Linked DNA regions of Homo sapiens: region 2 is linked to region 1. The links are contacts of gene promoters, found by promoter capture Hi-C in blood cells and fetal thymus (Javierre and others, 2016). All regions are on one chromosome and are shown on one strand. The core of a region is centred on a gene start or on the middle of the fragment in contact, and the rest is flanking DNA. Distances in the headings are between cores, read along the strand shown. Region 1 holds the start of ARL13B (ARF like GTPase 13B). Region 2 overlaps RIOX2 (ribosomal oxygenase 2).

Region 1 (4,688 bases), core at 972-3,471:
TTGACTTGCATTGTTTGATAGTACGTCTTAAGACTCCCATTCTAGAAAGGGTCCTACCCCATACCCTGGAAGAAGGAATGCTGAACAATCAGGTCAAGAGGAATCTGAACAGACAGGCCTTGCTGAGTTTCTCCACACAGTCTGCTCTCATTAGGTCATATCCTTTTTGACCAATGAGAGTTCTTCAGGGTTTTTCATTCTTCATCGAACCCAAGTATAAAAATGGGTAGTCTTCCCTGCATCTTTGCATCTCCATTTGCAAGGTTCCCATGTCACATAAAACTTGGATTAAATAAATTTGTTATGCTTTTCTCTTGCTATTCTTTTTGTTATATGAGTGTTGGCTGTGACTGTTATGATGAGAAGAAAAGGTATCACCCCCTTTGTTCCCCATAAGGCACAGTATTTTGGAGATAGCAAGCTGTATGAGATGTATATAAATTTGAATTAAAATTACATGAGGCTGGGTGCCATGGCTCATGTCTATAATCCCAGCACTTTTGGGAGGCCGAGGCAGGCGGATCATTTGAGGCCAGGAGTTTGAGACCAGCCTGGGCAACATGATGAAACCCTGTCTCTACAAAAAATACAAAAATCAGCTGGGCGTGATGGTGCACGTCTCTAGTCCCAGCTACTTGGGAGACTGAGGAAGGAGGATCACTTGACCCCAGGAAGCGGAGGTTGCAGTGAATCGAGATCATGCCACTGTACTCCAACCTGGGTGATAGAGGGAGACTCTGTCTCAAACAAAACAAAACAAAACCAAAAAAAGTTACATGATTTAGTAAAGGACAGAGACTAATTTAAAACCTATATGTATCTTAGTCTCAAATCATTATATTCCCCGCGAATACACTGGGATTCTCAGTGCCTTCTATCCTTTCATCAGGATTTGAAAATATTTATTTAAGTAGAAAATGAATGGACACACAGATCCCTACATATTGTGCATAATTTTTTCCCTACAGGAATGTCCTTGTCATTTCTTTTTCTCCAAAGTATATAAAAGAAATGCAAATATTACATACCTCTTTAAAAAATAAACTATTACAAAACAGTCAAGAGATAACAATCTTCATCTTGCAGATACCAAATAGCCAGCAATTTATGTACCTAAAAATCCTGAAACAAACATACATCAAAATGGTTATTTATTTATTTTTGAGACGGAGTCTTGCTCTGTTGCCCAGACTGGAGTGCAGTGGCGCGATCTCGGCTCACTGCAACCTCCGCCTCCCGGGTTCAAGCAATTCCCCTGCCTCAGTCTCCAGCGTAGCTGGGACTACAGGCGCGTGCCACCACACCCGTTTTTGTTTTTTTTTGTTTTTTTTTTTTTGTATTTTTACTAGAGACGGGGTTTCACCATGTTAGCCAGGATGGTCTAGATCACCTGGCCTCGTGATCCGCCCGCCTCGGCCTCACAAAGTGCTGGGATTACAGGCGTGAGCCACCGCGCCCGGCCCCAAATGGTTATCTTTGAGAGCTCCTGTGAGATCTCATTTTCTTCATCTTGTTTCTTTTTAGTATTTTTCACATTTTCTACAAGAAATGCATTTTTCTTTTGTAATCACAATCCCCCCTACAACAAATATCATACAATTCCGTTTCACATATGTAACAGTAATAAACGTTTTAGAGATTAAGGCTTCACTCTCATCTGAACTACTGAGAAAATTTAGCAAGCGAATTTCCCCCTTGTCTTTAACTTACAAGAATTGCCCCAGTGTATTGTTCCTGTAGTCATGCTGCCTAAGTCGGCCAGAATTCTAGAGGGTCCCCATCCCTGAGCAAAAAACAAACAAACAAAAAACAAGAAAAAAGAAAGAAAGAAAAAGAAAAACCCATGCACAAGACCTGAGATCTCTGAATCTCAGTTGGGGACACTGGAGAAAGGAAAGGAACAGCACCGTGGATTGGCAACACATTTTATGTAGGTATAAAGATAGGCCTTGCTGGAGATTTGTCCCGGATCCTCCAGCTTATCTCCGGACGCTCCGGTTGCCTAGTTACGAGAACGAGCTACCTCGAGCTCCGCCTCCTTCTTATAGAGTACTCCCCTTTCTCTTTTCCTAGTCTCGCGCAGGGGCGGGTAGCCAGGACTCTTCAGCCACTCAGAGGCCTCTACCTCAGGACCTCAACCGATGATTGGGCGAGCGCAGTACGGGCGTTGCCTGGGGAACGCCTTCCGCGCCTCGAAGTAACGTCAGCACGTCGACGCGGGGCTTTTCTTTAGCCGGGTCCCGCTAACTCGGCTACGGTGTATCTGCGTCTTTGGTCAGGTTGTTCCTTGGCTAAGAGGGCAGTCGTCGCGGACCCACGCGGTTAGCAAGGCTTAGTGCTCGGGCCGGCCGCCTTCACTTCCCTCCCGGCTTTTCCTCCCGACTTATCCACTTTAGGGGCGTCTCGGAGTGCCGGAGGCCCCCGGGGAAGAGCGGGGTGCCGGTGTCCGCTCCGGGCTCGGATGGGAAGTGGTGGGAGGAGCGACCCGGGATGTTCAGTCTGATGGCCAGTTGCTGCGGCTGGTTCAAGCGGTGGCGGGAGCCTGTCAGGTAGGCTGGAGCCAGCTGTCCTGGCCGTCCTAGGGGTTGGAGATGGCTGCGCCCCAGGGGCGAGGCGCCGCCTTTTCCCCGCGCCTGGACGAGTCTATCCCAGGCCGCAAGGGATGCTTTCATTCCCAGGGTGTCCCGGGAGGGAGAGATTGGAGGATGTAGCCTTGTTGTCTGGTCGACTTTCTGTTGCGATTGACAATGCTTACCGTTGTTATATTTTAAATAGGTTTGAATTTGTTAAAAAGTGTGTGTGTGTGTGTGTGTGTGTGTGTGTGTGTGGAATTGAAAACTATCCATTGTGTGTTTTTCCTCTGAAGCTTTTGTAATGGAAATTCTTTTAAAAAGAGGGGGACATGGAATATAGTTTTCATAATATCCGCACATTCCATTCCAAGTCACACCTCCACACAGTTGTATTTGAGGACGTGGGCTTGAAATCTGGCTCCACTACTTAATAATTACATGACTCAACCATTTTGGCCCCACCTTTCTTAAATATTAAATGAGAGTGATAATACTCTGCTTTAGAAATATTGTATTCAATGAGAACAAGTGATAGTGTTTTCTTAACTGTAATGTAGCTTCCAATTTTTATACGGTCTCTAGTAAAACCTTTTAATTGAAAGGGTCCACTTTTTAACATTTCATTTTGAAATGCTGGAAGTATTAATAATTAGTACCTGTTACTTGATATTCATTCATTCAAAAAATATTTATTAAGACAATACCTTGTGCCAGGCACTGTCTTAGGAAATAATCAGTGAAATTGATGCTTTTGAAACTGAGGCCTAACCTATAAAGAGATCTTGTGTTTGTTACACAAATAATGTTGACTTCACATAGTTCTAGTCTGGAATTGGGCCAAGGGTAAGATAAAGCAAAGTTGTTTTTTTTTTTAAATTGTTAACATTTTAAGTATATTTGCCATGAGAATGAACTATCCTTTAAAGAATGAATCTGAAAAGCTACACTTACACATTATAACAGAAAATACATGTCTAGATTGGAAAAAAAGTAACTTTAAATGAAACTAGAGATTCTTCCCCATTATTAGCTCCTAACTGAATTTGAATGTTTTAAATATAAGTAGTAAGATCAACTCTGTAAGTCAAAGATGGGCTGGGTGTGGTGGCTCACGCCTGTAATCCCAGCACTTTGGGAGGCCGAAGCTGGCCGATCTTTGGAGCCCTGGAGTTCGAGACCAGCCTGGTCAATATGGCGAAACCCCGTTTCTACAATAAAATAAACGGGCACGGTGACGCACGCCTGTAGTCCAAGCTACTTCGGAGGCTGAATCAGTAGGATCACTTGAGCCTGGGAGGCGGAGGTTGCAGTGAGCCGATATCGCTGCACTCCCTGAGTGACACAGTGCAACCCTGTCTCAAAAAAAAAAAAAAAAAAAAAAAAGAAAAAAGTCAAAGAGTTGTTTTAGGTGCATAGATTCTGATTTATTTGCTTTAATTATATTCTGGTCTAATTTCACAGTATCTACTAAGACTTGAGGGTCATTCATAATAGTTGACCCCTCATTTTCCTCCGTGTCTGCTTTTAAGAAATGTATTTGGTTTCTGTGAAGGCATGTATATAACTTACGTTCTTTTAACGAGAAACAGTGAAAACGTGTAATTCGAAGAAGGAGTGTTCAATTTAATTCATCATTCTTAGTCTTTCCTTTTCTTAGCAGCTTTTGTATATATACTCTCTGGAATGATTTGTTTAAAGAGAAGAGTTCAGAGAAAGGAGAATGTATTGATTTCCAAGTAGAACAGATAATTGAATTTTCTTAATAAAGCATTATTAAAATTTAGCTGCATAACCCAGAGTGTATTTTCTTCTTTAATAAGCACCATCTAGATTTGTCCTGTCCAGTAGGGTAACAACGAGCTACACGTGGCTGTTGAGCACTTGAAATGTGGCTAGTCTGAATTAAGATGCTGTAAGTGTATGTTTAATACATAGTGGGCTTTGAAAAAAGATTTATTATGCAAAAAAGTCAGCATCTTATCAGTCTTTTAAAAGTATGATTACATGTTGAAATGATAACTTTTGCATATGCTAGGTTAAATAATATATTAGAATTAACTTTTTTTTACTTTTTAAAAAATGAGATTACTAGAGAATTTCAATGTATATGTTGCT
Region 2 (4,677 bases), core at 1,909-4,408, 4.0 Mb after region 1:
CTCCTATGTTGCCATTTTGATTTAATGAAGGGTCACAGAAGGGGGTTTCTGAATGGGGATAAAAGTTTATCTAAAATTCAGAACAGCCCCTCACCTATTCTGGGCCATCTGTCATGAGATGAGATACAGATCTCAAACCTTGAGGAAAACAAATTAGTTCATACTAAATCTGCATTTTATAAATGTAGAAACCAAGCATAGAGGAGGCAAATTATTTCCCAAATGTCAATCCCTGATATAGAAAAAAATTTAAAAATTTGCCAATCCTCTGCATTTGCAAAGCAAAGATTTCCTCCACCTATGAAGCCTTACCAGGAGCAGTTCCAGGTACCTCAATGTCACCCATTCGGGTGTTATTAAGGGTGAAGTCTCTTTATTGGACTTGCATCTAGCATGTGATCTGGTCATGGCTCTGAAGCCTCCATTTAGATGCAGGCAGTAAAGGGAAGCAACTTCGGGAAAAAATGATCACCTTGATGCTGTCATGCCTTAAATTACAGTGATGTGACAAACCAAATAGAAATGTCTATCATATAGAAAAACATAAACTGGCTCACAGAACATACTCCTGCAGTTGTAGTGCCACTTTAACAACTTTATAAACTTGCAGTATAATTAGTTTTGCAGCTCAATGATACCCAACAATGTCTACCCTGAGTTGCTGGAGTTTCTAACAGTCCAACCAAACATAACACATAATCTTAATCCTAGTTAGAATGCATTTAGACCAAAGAGGTGCTACCCCTTCTCAAACTGGCAAGAGACTAACCATCATCAAACTACGTATTCACCCTTGAGCTGATATGTGGCCAAATGTTAGTACTTTAAAATGTATGAGGATTCTGCAATGGGGAAACTGGTTACCTTAAATCTCTGAGGTTGGTGAAACTGAATCGTTGCCCTTTTCTGATCAAAATCTTTTCTCAGCTGAAGAAAGTGTGCTTTGCCATCTTTATTTAAAACCTTCTTCTTCCCATTGACACACCGGCAGACATTCACATCTCTTCCATAGTACATCCCCCGGCTGCACAGACTCTTCAGATCTGTTAGCTTGAACAGGGACCCATAGTATGTGGCCAGTGCAGGGTCATCTCTCTGAATGAGAAGGGGCTTCTGCTCCCAGAATTCCTTGAAAAAAGTCTCTGTCTTGATGGGCGAGATTAAACTTTCAAAGAGACTACTGGGACTGTCAAAGTTTAAAGCTGAAGGCCCCCCAGCTGCTTCTAACTTCATCTGCTTACAGGGAGCCGGCCCCTCTTCCTTCCCACTCCCTGTAGGCTTTGCTTTCTTTGGCATCGTTCTGTCTTCAAGACAAAGCAGTAAGGAAATGCAAACCTACCAAAAGAACAAAACACACATGGTTAGGTTTACAAGGAGTGCCAGCATTGGTGTTAGTGGATCGCGCGCACACACAACTGAATGACCATTACACCTTCGTGAGAACTCTTCATAGGTCAAAGCTACTTCCCCCAGGATAGGAGACAGCCTTAAGCCAATGCCATTTCTTCTAAGATATGATTCAAGCTCAACCACCACTCAGATGACATATTCATCTAAAGAAGAACGTGTTTTTCTTTTACACAAGCACTATGTCATGGTATTATTTATTAGGCAGTATAATTATCCCAAATAAACCTATTCAACTGTCTCAGCAGTTCCTACTCACAGGTTTAGCCTGTGGCCACTGACACAGCAAAGTCAAATATCTTGGATTTGGCTCCCATCAGCATCAGGGCCCACATCTAATTAGATGTACTCTGAGTTACAAACATTTGACTAGAGAAAAACTAACAGCCGCCCACTGCCAGGTGCTCCTCACCGCAGCACCACCCCAACTGTTGCGCAGGTCAATCAATGCGCCCTGGACCCGCGGTGTCTCCTGGTGGCTGGAGCAGGCCACTGCCTTCTCCTGTCTCCACTAACCACCTGAACCTGCTCACTTCCAACTCTGAGCTTATTCCTGAAAACGGCCACTTTTATCAGAAACTCCCCTTCGTTTAAAGAAATAAAGCCCCTAAAGGCTGAAAAGTGAAGGCTAAAAGTAGTTATATCTAAAGCCTTGAAAAAACTATAACTTTTTAACTGAAGATTTTAAATAATACCAATATCATTAGCCCCTAACACAGCACTTCTCCAACTTTAATGTGCACACAGATCACCTTAGCATCTCAATAAAATGCAGGATATGATCCACTAGCTCCAAGGTGAAGCCTGAGGTTCTGCATTTCTAACAGGCTCCCAGGTGATGCTTCTGCTGCTGACACTGCTGAGTAGTCGAAGCCACACAGCCAAGCCTTGCAAAGCTCCTTCAGAACTGCCTCCAAACCACAACTATTGATACTTAGAGGGTAGGTTTCCCTCATCTGTTTCCAAGAACTGTAATTCAAATTATTTAAATTTCCTGAGACTGCAAAATTCTATCTTAAAGTCCTTTCCCTCTGGGAAGGGACTCCATCACTTTCAACAGATTCTTAAGGAAGTCCCTATCTCCTGACAAGGTTAAGAACCACTGTACTTATAAAAACCAAAATTTCTGAAAGACTTGTTATTTATAAATGGTATAGTTTCCTACTTTGGTGAGTTATCAGAATTGCAAGAATACTGTTTTCTGTTCTTTTGTCATTATAACTAAGCAGTATTTCAGCTACACTGTAGACTAAGTGGAATTAATGTTCTGGCCTGGGAAGTAAGCATCCTGGAACGATGTGTTGCATACTGTGTGACGTGTTGCAACTTATAAAAGAAACTTTAGATTGAAACCCAGATGTAAACTGAACAAATTAAGAAAGGAAATGTCAAAATATAAAACCCTCTAAACAGCTCCATTCCTTCAAAAGACCAGGTGCTTTTGATAAGGAAACACAGGACATGGTGGAAGACTAACACAAACTGATACTACAGGAGAGGGGTAAAGCTTGAAGCTTAGAAAAAAAAAATAAACTTTAGTGTTTAGGATATGTGGTCAGTAAGACACATTTTCTGAAAATGTTTCCTTTAAGTGAAACAGACCAGCTTGAATTCTCCAGGAAAGAATTAAGGCTTCAGGAAGGCACAGCATTGCTAGTACATGGAACTCTCAAGTGATGGAGAAATACAAAGAGATAGAAAAATGGATTCGGGAAGGGGTACTGCTTATGCAGAAGACGTTCCATAGCAGGCCTGACTGCTATCCTTTGAAAGTGCAGCTTGTGGCCGATGTCTGAGAACTTAAGATTTTGGGAGAGTTTCCACCACCATTAACTGATAGGAGTGGCTCACCATGCCTAAAATGTACAATCATTACAGTTTATACCAACACCTGCTTTCCTCTGGGAGTCTGGAAACGTTGGTATGTGCCAGGCAGGGGTGGCCTAAGTGAAAAGCCCCCAGTAAAAGCCCTGGGCACTGAGTCTCTAACAAGCTTCGCAGGTTGGCAACATTTCACAAGTGTTGACACAACTAGTTGCTGGAGCAACTGAGCACAGCCAGTGTGACCGCTCGAAGACCCTTGGAGCCTTGCACTTGGTATCCCCAGAACTTCACCCATGTGCCTCTTCCCTTTGCTGACTGTGCTTGATATCTTTTCCCTGTAATAAATCAGCCGAGTCCTCCTAGCAAATTGCTGAACTAAAGATGGCCTTGGGGACCACAGCACATTGCTCACGTTTAATTTTTAAAAACTTAGATTGGTTTATTAGGTTTGTATTACTAAAGGCACCCTATAGAGTCATTTTATATTCAGCCACACATCTCTTATCTCTCACAATTGGTCAGTTTAAAATTCATTTAAGGGGAGAGAGCAGGAGGAAGATGCAAACGAAAAGCTTTTCTTTAAGCATAATATATGAATACAGTATAAGCACATTCACCAGAAAGTGTGGCTAATCAAAGAATGCAAAACACTTAAGCCAAAATAAAATCACTTAAAAGAATCTTTCCCATCTACAATCACTAACAAACCCCAATACTGTATAACAAATGCTTTCCTTAGAATATAAATTTCACTACCCATACTGCCAAAAGTTACATCATTTGTTTCTCTGTGTTCATGTTGAAATGATTTGAGGCTCAGTTAATTGGAGCCTAAGCTTAGAGGTTTCTGGGCAAATACATTATTTCTCTGATTCTCACACTACTCATACTGTAAGACAACCATTCCTCTTAACAGCTTTCTAGAGCAGAGGGGAGAATAGATGAAGCATCCTACCACATTAAACATACAAAAGTCTTAAGGTACATATCATAATTTCGGAAACAGCAAGAAGTAAAACACATATCTTAGAATCCAATACTATAGTAATTAAAGAAGACAATGCTTTGTCTAGAATAGTACAGCCAACACAACCTTGCCCATAAGCCTTAGAGACCACCCCAATAGGAGTAAATATTTCTGTAAAATCACAGAAAAGTTTTTGAAGAGCAATTGTTTTCCATTTGAGTTGACTATAAGCATTAAATGTAAAAAGACTAAAAGATTTACAGTTCATACTTTGGTGACTACCCCACAGATAAACCCTATAAGAAAATCAATGTTGACAACCATACTATAGGCAACAGACAGACAGTCACTATATTTTAAAGGTACCCTAACCTCCTTTTCTATAATATTTGAGGACATGAAGACGTGAGGAAGCTCTTGAAGGAAAGGATTTGTATATCCCCGGAAACAAGCACGGTGTGGTACATAGGAGGTCCTCA

What was found. The method cuts DNA at HindIII sites, captures the fragments that hold promoters and counts their contacts. A CHiCAGO score of 5 or more calls a contact.
Region 2: a fragment that was not itself captured here is called in contact with the fragment with the promoter of ARL13B in region 1 in 1 of 17 cell types (total B cells); the score reaches 9.2 in total B cells.

What each region holds. Positions count from the first base shown.
Region 1 is chr3:93,977,934-93,982,621 of GRCh38, forward strand. It overlaps ARL13B (ARF like GTPase 13B), which reads left to right and starts at 2,222. Exons shown (of 10, transcript NM_001174150.2): 1 at 2,222-2,549. The coding sequence starts at 2,491. RefSeq lists enhancers at 1,830-1,989, 2,260-2,389. The HindIII fragment of the contact is 5,745 bases long and covers 1-2,864 here.
Region 2 is chr3:97,966,298-97,970,974 of GRCh38, forward strand. RIOX2 (ribosomal oxygenase 2) reads right to left here. Exons shown (of 10, transcript NM_153182.4): 2 at 865-1,335. The coding sequence starts at 1,296. Among named protein-coding and RNA genes, the nearest start is that of RIOX2, 3.8 kb to the right of the region's middle. The HindIII fragment of the contact is 479 bases long and covers 2,920-3,398 here.